2 separate regions of the Homo sapiens genome follow, and region 2 is linked to region 1. Evidence: promoter capture Hi-C in 16 types of primary human blood cells and fetal thymus (Javierre and others, 2016). All regions are on one chromosome and are shown on one strand. The core of a region is centred on a gene start or on the middle of the fragment in contact, and the rest is flanking DNA. Distances in the headings are between cores, read along the strand shown.

The links. Contacts are between HindIII fragments. The CHiCAGO score rates a contact against its expected background, and 5 or more counts as called.
Region 2: a contact is called between the fragment with the promoter of BORCS7-ASMT here and the fragment with the promoter of CALHM3 in region 1, in 1 of 17 cell types (neutrophils). The highest score is 7.4, in neutrophils.

Annotation. Positions count from the first base shown.
Region 1 is chr10:103,477,126-103,482,178 of GRCh38, forward strand. It overlaps CALHM3 (calcium homeostasis modulator 3), which reads right to left and starts at 2,115. Exons shown (of 3, transcript NM_001129742.2): 1 at 1,621-2,115. The coding sequence starts at 1,907. NEURL1-AS1 (NEURL1 antisense RNA 1) reads right to left here. Exons shown (of 4, transcript NR_120675.1): 4 at 2,478-2,872. RefSeq lists an enhancer at 1-673. The HindIII fragment of the contact is 14,732 bases long and covers 1-5,053 here.
Region 2 is chr10:102,851,990-102,857,042 of GRCh38, forward strand. It overlaps BORCS7-ASMT (BORCS7-ASMT readthrough (NMD candidate)), which reads left to right and starts at 2,221. Exons shown (of 15, transcript NR_037644.1): 1 at 2,221-2,438. It overlaps BORCS7 (BLOC-1 related complex subunit 7), which reads left to right and starts at 2,270. Exons shown (of 5, transcript NM_001136200.2): 1 at 2,270-2,438. The coding sequence starts at 2,298. RefSeq lists enhancers at 1,790-2,303, 2,286-2,345, 2,304-2,816, 2,416-2,605, 3,613-4,585. The HindIII fragment of the contact is 18,616 bases long and covers 1-5,053 here.

The sequences.
Region 1 (5,053 bases), core at 865-3,364:
TTTGGAGGAGAGCCTAAGCTAAGACAGCCCTGCCCAGTAACCCTCCAAAAGCAGCACCTCTAACACCCCTACCCACAAGGCATCCCAGGAGCCCACCCTCTGACCGGCCTCAGGCGCCTTTCCAGATCAACTCTGCCCCTGCCTGTAGTGACCTCGACTGGGTATTGGCCACAGGACAGGAGCCCAGTGGAGCTGTGCCCACTGGACCCCAGAGGAAAAGGCCAAGGACACACCCAGTGCCTGTGACCCACCCTGCACAGCTGAATTGCAGGGAGATGTGATCCCTGAGAACATGGAACAGAGGCTGAGGGTGCACCGGATGCAGATGTTGTTTCTGAATTGGATTGTACACAAAACATCCAATGGTGTGTGCCAGGTGTGTGCGTGCATGGCCTACCCAGTGTGAGCTGTAAATATGTTCTAGGCAGTGGTGGCTTTAGCATTTTCTTTTCTTTTTTTGTCTTTTTTGAGTCTTGCTCTGTCGCACAGGCTGGAGTGCAGTGGCACGATTTCAGCTCACTGCAACCTCTGCCTCCCAGGTTCAAGCGATTCTCCTTCCTCAGCCTCCTGAGTAGCTGGGACCACAGGTGCCCAACACCACGCCCAGCTAATTTTTTATATTTTTTAGTAGAGATGGGGGTTTTGCCATGTTGGCCAGAGTGGTCTCGAACTCCTGACCTCAGGTGATCCACTCGCCTCGACCTCCCAAAGTGCTGGGATTACGGGTGAGAGCCACCGCGCCTGGCCCCCCCACCCAATCTCTGGCTCCTTATTTTCCCCCAAGGCTAGCCATAGAAACTAGAATCCATCTTCCCCAAGGTGGGTCATAGAAACCAGAACTCCTTTTCTCCAAAGCTGCCACCATAAAACCTAAAAATATGATTCTAATTTCCCCCCGCCTTTCTGTCTGAAAACTGGCCGTAAAGAAATGATCTGACCTACCTAGTTTCATTGTAGATCATAAGACTCCCTTCTAGAGAGGGTCCTGCCCCGTGTCTGGGAGAAAGGAACACTGTATAGAGAGGCCAAGAAGAACCTAGATGGCCTTGCTGAGTTTCCCCACTCCGTCTATAACATCAGTTCATCCCTTTTTTAATCCAATTCTATTTCTGCGTGGCTATCCAAACCTTGTTGAACCTAAGCATAAAAATGAACCATTTCCTCTGTATCTTTAGGTCTTTATTCTGAAGGTTCTGTGGCACATAAAACGGTAATCAAATAAATTTGTATGCCTTTTCTCTTATTAATCTGCCTTTTGTCAGTTGATTTTCAGCAGAGCTTCAGAGGGCAAAGAGGAAGTTTTCCCGCAGCCCCTAGAGTGGCCTGGGTAATTGGGAATCCTGTGTCATTCCTATGTTTACAGCACTGGCCACGGAAAGGTGACAAACGATAGGAACAGAAATATGTTTCCAGAGTGGAAACTGGCAAGTGGCTCTCTGTGAGCCGATAATTCCTAGTTGGGGAAAGGAGAGGGCGCACCTGGCAGTACCTGTAGGGTGGGTGGAGAATCCCCTGATAATGAGAATGGTTGGGGTCTGGGGGTGCACTTGACAGTGCCTGTGGGGTGGCTGGGGAGCCCCTGGCAAAGCTCATGGGTCACTGAGTGGTGTGGGACCGCACCTGATGATGCCTGGGTCCTTCCTCCGGTGCCCTGCGGGCCGGCGCCACTCCTCGACCATCACCACAGACTGCCGGTTGGCGAGGAGGCCGCAGAGAAACAGGGCGAGCGGGGGCGTCAGCAGCAGGCCCAGGCCGTAGAGTGCATTGTAGTGCACCAGGCAGGGACAGTTGAAGTCAAAGGAGGAGTACAGCTTGACGGTGACCGCAGCCAGCAGCAGGCAGATGCCATTCATCACCGACTCCGAGCTTGACTGGAAGTGCTGGAAGAGCATGCGGAATTTATCCATGGCTCCAGCCTGGGTGGGTGGGCGGCCGTCGGTTCGGCTCAGTGAGGCTCTGGCCACCTTCCTGGTGTCTGCTGTGCTGGGGACGAGCCTGGGATCTGCAAGAGGTTCTCTCTCTGCTTCCAAGGGCCTGAGGGGCCAAGGAGGAAGCAGTGCCCAGGCCCCAGCCCAGGCTCCCGGGATCCAGTAGGCACTTAAGGCAGGGACAGGCTCTCACCACAAAGGCTCCCCTGCCCAGCCCAATGGTCCCCTGGTGCCACTCCCCTCCTGTCTGGGGGAGTGAGTCACCCTCTGTGACCGGGCAGCCCAAAGCACCTCTAGGCAAATGGGCCCCGCCCTGTCACTCCATTCCTCCCGGCCCATTTCTCTTTGCTTTACGGTCTGGATGCTCAGGCTTGACAGCCGTTGGAGCTTCCTTCGGGGGACAGGCAAATTCTGGGTGTGGTGAGGAAAAGATGCTGATGGAGCCAAGGTAGTATATTTTCTGGTCTTGATCAAAAGCATGACTCTGAACTTGTCTCACAGGCATAGTAAAACAACAGCAACAACAACAACAAAATATGACGACTCAGCTCAGCCCAGGGAGATTTCATGTTGGCTTTCAGGCTAGGAGGAGCCAGAAGGGGCACCTATTCCTGACCGAAGGCTTCCTGGAAGAGGAGACCCTTGAGAGGAGTCTTCAACGATGTTTCAGCATTTGCCATGAAAGGGGTAGCGGAAGGGGATGGCCTCCCTGGGCGACGTGCTAAACATTGTGCATTAACCACTGGGTGCCCATGGGAGAGGCTGCTCAAGTGCCACGCCCACACCTGCATGGCTTTCCCCCTGCCCTTCTTCCGTGTGAGGGGCATGCGTTTGAAATCACTGCTTCTTCTCCTAACTCTCCCACATCACTAGGTCTCTCCTTGTGTCTCAGTTCCAGTCTCTCCGAAGGATGACAGCCCAGATGTTTGAGGGACCCCTGAAACCTGCAAAACGAATTTTGTAAAGGTCACTTGGCCCATATTGTAAGTCAGATCATCCCAAATAAGTCTTGCAAATTTCGTAACCATCTGTGTGGTCTGTACTTCTGATGAAGACAGACAGAAACCTGGGTCTTACTTATTATTATTATTATTATGAGATAGAGTCTTGTTCTGTCACCCAGGCTGGAGTGCAGTGGCACGATCTTGGTTCACTGCAGCCTCTGCCTCCCGGGTTCAAGTGATTCTCCTGCCTCAGCTTCCAAGTAGCTGGGATTACAGGCACCCACCACCACGCCCAGCTAATTTTTGTATTTTTAGTAGAGACAGGGGTTTTGCCATGTTGGTCAGGCCGGTCTCGAACTCCTGACCTCAGGTGATTTGGCCCCCTTGGCCTTCCAAAGTGCTGGGATTACAGGCATGAGCCACTGAGCCTGGCCACTTAGTATTTTTATTTTCCATATTTGTACGTTACTCTAGGTCCTATGAGACAGATTTCCCTGTGTGAGGGAAATGAGGCACTGGAGAAGATGGGGAGAGCCACCAGTGGCCCTGTGAGTCTGACTCTGAGCGGAGGAGAGGGCGGGGCAGGGGTGAGAAACCCTTCAAGCCAGGAGGACCACCACAACTTCAGGTGGGTACAGTCCCAGAGGGGCTGTTGGAGGTCACATACCCTGGCGGGGACAGAGCCAGGGAGGAAGCTGGGATCCTCCATCTGTGCCTTTCAGCCTTAGTCACCCACTGGGCTGCTGACCAGAAAAGGGGACTGTCCTGGCCCAAGGCCAGGCTTCGTGACCCTGAACCAGCAGGGCTGGTGTGGAGCAGGCGGGGAGCTAACTGGGCTGGGAGGGTCATGAGCACCCCTCAATCCCATTCTAGTCTCAGGGAGGGATAGAGTGTCCTAAGGGTCCCCAGCCACTCTAACCTTGAGAGTTCAGAAAACAATAGACAATGCTTCTGGAAGAACACTTTGAAGAAAACTGGGTCAAAGACTCCAGGCCAACCTTTTCACAGCTCCAGCCTCTGAGAGGTAAGACAGAGCTACCAGGTCAGCCTGGGTCCCTGGAGCCCTGCAGGGCAACAGGTGCTGAGTGACTGCAGCGGGGCTGACCCTTGCCGGGTATTTACAGGAAATACTTCAGTAAAGAAACAGGCCAGAAAGAAGCCCACCACAAAAGGGATATTATCTGTCAAAGAGAGGGGATGGCTTACATTTTTTTTTAAATCTCTATTTTCTGAATTGTCGACTTTTATAATAGTAGACATAATAAATCATTACTATAATCATAATAATGATTTTTAACTATTTCCAGCAAAAATCATAAAACATTTTAATTAGAAAAACATAAAAAGATAAAAGGACAAGGCAAAAAGGAGAATTCCATTTTGTTGCCTGGAGCTTGGCCCTGCTGAACTAGTAGAGAGAGAACTAGAGGCAGCAATAAATGGAGAAAGGCTTCTTTTACTCACACATATGGAAAGATATTAAATTGCAGATCTGGCCGGGCGTGGTGGCTCACGCCTGTAATCCCAGCACTTTGGGAGGCCGAGGCAGGCAGATTGCCTGAGCTCAGGAGTTTGAGACCAGCCTGGCCAACATGGCAAAACCCCATCTCTATTAAAAATACAAAAAATTAGTCGGGCATAGTGGTGCATGCCTGTAATCCCAGCTACTTGGGAGGCTGAGGCTTGAGAATTGCCTCTCTTGAGGCTGAGGCATGAGAATTGCTTGAACCCAGGAGGCGGAGGCTGCAGTGAGCCCAGATCATGCCACTGCTCTCCAGCCTGGGCAACAAAGAGAGACTAAAAATAAATTACATTTTTCTTTTTAATAATGATTTAATCTTTTTTTTTTTTTTAAAACCAGTTGTAAATATGTGTTAATTTGCAATTGGAAGATCTTTATAGAATAAATCTTTGGTACTTTCTTCATGTTATTTTGTTTTATTTTCAAATTGGAGTCTTGCAGATATATTCTTGGGGGTCTTCCAGTTTTTTTTGATCTTTGCAAAGGAGTCTGGATATTATTTGAGAAACACTGGCTTCACCGTTCTTGGAGTTCCTGTTATTGAGAGGGCTGTTTAGGACTAGATGCCCCCTACTGGAGAAACTCGTTGTATGTGATGTGTGAGAGATGTGTCTATGTACCTGTGTATGCATGTGTGTACACATGTATGTGTATGTGCG
Region 2 (5,053 bases), core at 971-3,470, 630 kb before region 1:
AAACCCATCTCTACTAAAAATACAAAAATTAGCCAGGCGTGATAGTGGGCACCTGTAATCCCAGCTACTCGGGAGGCTGAGGCAGGAGAATCGCTTGAACCAGGGAGGCAAAGGTTGCAGTGAGCCAAGATCGTGCCACTGCACTCCAGCCTGGGTGACAAAGCAAGACTCCATCTCAAAAAATAATGTTGTTATTGTACATAAATTATAACATAAATTCATGCACATAAACTCAATAAAGTTTATTAAGGACAAAAAGTAAACAGTAAATGAGATTCAACGGAGACATATGAATCTAGACACTTGGAAGAGGAAGTAATGTTGATATTGAATACAGGTAATTTTGAACAAAATTTTCAATACAATAACATTCTCACATCTTTTATTAACTAAAAAAGAAATGGAGCTACTTGAAATATTTTATTTTTTTTTTGAGACAGAGTCTCACTCTGTCGCCTAGGCTGGAATACAGTGGCATGATCTCGGCTCACTGCAACCTCTGCCTCCCGGGTTCAAGAAATTCTCCTGCCTCAGCCTCCAGAGTAGCTGGGACTACAGGTGCCCACCACCACGCCCGGCTAATTTTTGTATTTTTAGTAGAGACGGGGTTCCACCATGTTGGGCAGGCTGGTCTCGAACTCCTGACCTCAGGTGATCCTCCCGCCTCAACTTCCCAAAGTGCTGGGATTACAGGCGTGAGCCACGGCACCTGGCCTACTTGAAATATTTTACATATTAATTCACTTACAAGGTGGTTACCATCAGTTTGGTATTAATACAATAAAGAGGTTATCAATAAAAATTACTAGTGATGTTGAGCATTTTTCACATTTATCAGCCAGTTGATTTTTTTTTTTGAATTGCCTACTTGTGCCTTTTGCCAATTTTTCTATTAGATTGTTTTTCCTTCTTCATTTGTTTACAGGCCTATCTGCCTCATCAGCCTGGGAGTTCCACAGAGACAAGAACTGTATTTCATTTCTTTCTCTATCCCCAGCCTAGTACAGTGTCTGGTATTTAGTTCATGAAATGTTTGTTAAAATTGAATGGAATGAGGCCAGGTGCAGTGGCTCACGCCTGTAATCCCACCATTTTGGAAGGCCAAGGCTGGTGGATCATTAGATGTCAGGAATTTGAGACCAGCCTGGCCAACATGGTGAAACCCTATCTCTACTAAAAATACAAAAATTAGCCGGGCCTGGTGGCAAGCACCTGTAATCCCAGCTACTTGGGAGGCTGAGGCAGGAGAATCACTTGAACTCAGGAGGCGGATGTTGCAGTGAGCTGAGATCGAGCCACTGCACTCCAGCCTGGGCAACAAAGCGAGACTCCATCTCAAAAAAAAAATAAAATAAAATAAAATTAAATAAAATGAGACAAGTTATCGCTATGTTGCCCAGGCTGCTGATACTGAACTCCTGGCCTTGAGTGACCCTTCTGCCTCGGCCTCCCAAAGTGCTGGGACTACAGGTGTGTCACCATATGGATAGGTTGGCCTTGAACTCCTGACCTCAAGTGATCCACCTTGGCCTTTCAAAGTGTTGGGATTACAGGCGTGAGCCACCACGCCTGGCCCCTTGTCTCAATTAATCAAAAAAAGGCCTAGGCAACAGAACAAGACTCTGGGGAAAAAAAAATATATATGTATATATATATGTGTATATATATGTATATATATGTATATATGTGTATATATGTGTATATATATGTGTATATATATATATGTGTATATATATATGAATGGAATGATATTCTCATAACCCCTTGGAAACATTATTACTTCTGTTTAACAGATGAGGAATATAAGACAGAAGCTGAGTAATTTGCAGCCACACACTGCTAAATGGTAGCATTGGGACTGTAATCCGGGCCTTCTGATTCTTTTTAATTATTTGTATTAATTTTAATTTTATTTTATTTTTAAAGAGATGGAGTTTCGCTATGTTGCCCAGGGTGGTCTGGAACTCTCAGGCTCAGGTGATCCTCCTGCCTGGGTCTCCCAAAGGGCTGGGATTTCAGGCGTGCGCCGCCATGCCCTGCCGCAGGCTTTCCGATTCTGAACCATAGAGTCAATGAAACTGTCCTCCATCCCCTCCAGAGATGTTTGCCTGGACCCTGTTTTCCTCAGGATATCAATGAATAGTTCATGAGTTTAGTGAGCAAAGGTCAACCTCCATCAGGCGCATGCGTCCCTTCCTTTTCCCATGGAGGAAGAGACGCCTCTTTTCCTTCCGCTTTGCTTGTCTTTTGGCCCCGGCGACTCACCATCGTCAGTGCGCAACCGTTCGCTAACTGAAATGATGGCGACTGGAACGCCAGAGTCTCAAGCGCGGTTCGGTCAGTCCGTGAAGGGGCTTCTCACGGAGAAGGTGACCACCTGTGGTACTGACGTAATCGCGCTCACCAAGCAGGTGCTGAAAGGCTCCCGGAGCTCCGAGGTGAGCTGGAAGTGGACTCTCCCGGCCTGATAGTCCGGGGAGTCGCAGTCTTTCGTTGCTGTGGGAAGGAGGTCGCGTTGCATCTTGGGAATTGTAGGCTGTGAAGTACTTGCTATGAGTAGGTCTTCTTCGCGGAGGCGCGTGTTGCATTCTGGGGTGTGCAGTCTCTTTGGTTAGGGACAGTGTGTGAGGGTTGGGGGAAGAAGCGATGCCATGGGAACCTGTGCTTTAAAACAGCTCTTTGGGAGGCCGAGGCGGGCGGATCACCTGAGGTCGGGAGTTCGAAACTAGCCTGACAATCATGGAGAAACCCCCGTCTCTACTAAAAAATAATAATTAAAAAAATATATAGCCGAGCGTGGTGGCACATGCCTGTAATCCCAGTTACTTGGGAGGCTGAGGCAGGAGAATTGCTTGAACCTGGGAGGCGAATTATATATATAAGTATTATATATTACGTATTATATAATATATATACGTATATATTATATATAATGTGTATGTATATATTACATATATAATATACATATATATTATATATAATATATGTAATATATATTATATATATTTTCAACTAGAGGTGTTTATAGTTAACCACCTGTAAATATTCAACATATTCATCATAATAAACGTACATTTATTTAGCATTTTATATATGCTAGACACTGTTGTCTTTTATGGAGTTTAATTCATGAAGTCTTTAGAATGACTAATTGAAGGAAGTACTTTTCCTTTTTTTTTTTTTTTTTTGAGACGGAGTCTAGCTCTGTCGCCAGGCTGGAGTGTAGTGGTGTGATCTTGGCTCACTGCAACTTCCGCCTCCTGGGTTCAAGTGATTCTCCCGCCTCAGCCTCCTGAGTAGCTGGGATTACAGGCACGCACCACCACACCTGGCTATTTTTGTATTCTTAGTAGAGATGAGGTTTCACCATGTTGGCCAGGCTGGTCTCGAACTCTTGACCTCATGATCTGCCTGCATCAGCCTTCCAAAGTGCTGGGATTACAGGCGTGAGCCACCGCTCCTGGCAGCATTGCTTCTTGAGCAGTCTCCACATAGCTATTTTGTTTGATTAGCTGAGAATTTCATGTGTAAAAAACTCATTCCACAGTATTCATTTAACAAATACTTATTGGGTGTCTGCTATGTGCCAGGAACTGCTCTAGGTACACGGAATAAACAAAACTAAATCCCTCTACTTGGGAAGTTTACATTTTAGTGAAGAGACAGACGATAAACAAGTGAAACAGAAAAAAATCAGGTGGTGGTAAATCCTGTGAAGCAAAATTAATCTGGGAATAGAGAGTGATGAAAGGGTTAATCTTTGTTTGTTTGTTTGTTTTGAGACAGAGGAGGAGTCCCACTAGCTCTGTCACCCAGGCTAAAGTGCAGTGGCCCGATCTCGGGCTCACTGCAACCTCTGCCTCCTGGGTTCAAGCGATTCTCCTGCCTCAGCCTCCTGAGTAGCTGGGATTATAGGCGCCTGCCACCACACCCAGCTAATTTTTGTGTTTTTAGTAGAGATGGGGTTTCACCATGTTGGCCAGGCTGGTCTCAAACTCCTGACCTCAAGTGATCCTTCCCGCTTTGGCCCCCTAAAGTGCTGGGATTACAGGCATGAGCCACCACACCCGGTCGAAAGGGTTAATCTTAAACAGATGATCAGGGAAGGGGTCTCTGGGGAGAGAGCCTGTGAGGAGAAACACACTGACATTTGCCCACAGCATAATGAGTGGTTATGACTCATAGGCTTGTCTCTTGCATGCCTGCGCTTCTCCTCCTCCATTTGAGTTGTGTGCTTAGTGAGGGTCCATTGTGTTTTTTTCTAAACATCATGTGTCTGTGGGCTGGGCGCAGTGGCTCATGCCTGTAATCCTAACACTTTGGGAGGCCGAGGCAGGATTGCTTAAGCCCAGGGGTTCGAGACCAGCCTGGGCCACATAGTGATATCTTGTCTCTGTAAAAAAAGGAAAAAAAAAAAGAATGAAAACAATTTTTTAAATGTGTGTATGGCACTTATGCTTACAGTTGCAACTACGTAATTTAATGAAATAATACGAAAAATGAAATATGAGTACCAAAAAAGAGGGTTGCTATTGCTATGAAAACTAAGTTGAAAATCAGAAACACTTGTTGAAGATGAGTAGCTAAGACAAATTGTTATTGAGTTAATTATGAACAAGTTAATGGTAAAAGCCTAGGAGAAAAATTTATAGAAATCTAAAAAGATTCTGTAGTGAAGATTGTTTTACAGGTGTATTCAAGATGTTCTTCCATTTTAAAGAAAGCAAAACTAGAAATCTCAGATGGTATGTTATGTGTCTGGTCTGTTTATGTAGGAAAGTGATGCAGAATGCCAATGAATATATCAAGGAAAAGCCTTGGCTTTACATTACAACAGCCCCTGCCTTCAAGGCAACCACAACTCCCATTGAGTCTGTTTTCTAAATGTCTCACAAATCCTTTGTTTCTTTTTTTCTTGGCTACTTCTGTGTTTCAGGCCATCCTCATTCCTTGCTTAGAGTACTGCTGTGTCATCCTAACCAATCTCTCTGCCTCATTCCCCACTCTAGTCCACCTGCTTACCACATTTCTAAAACAGAAAAATGGATCATGC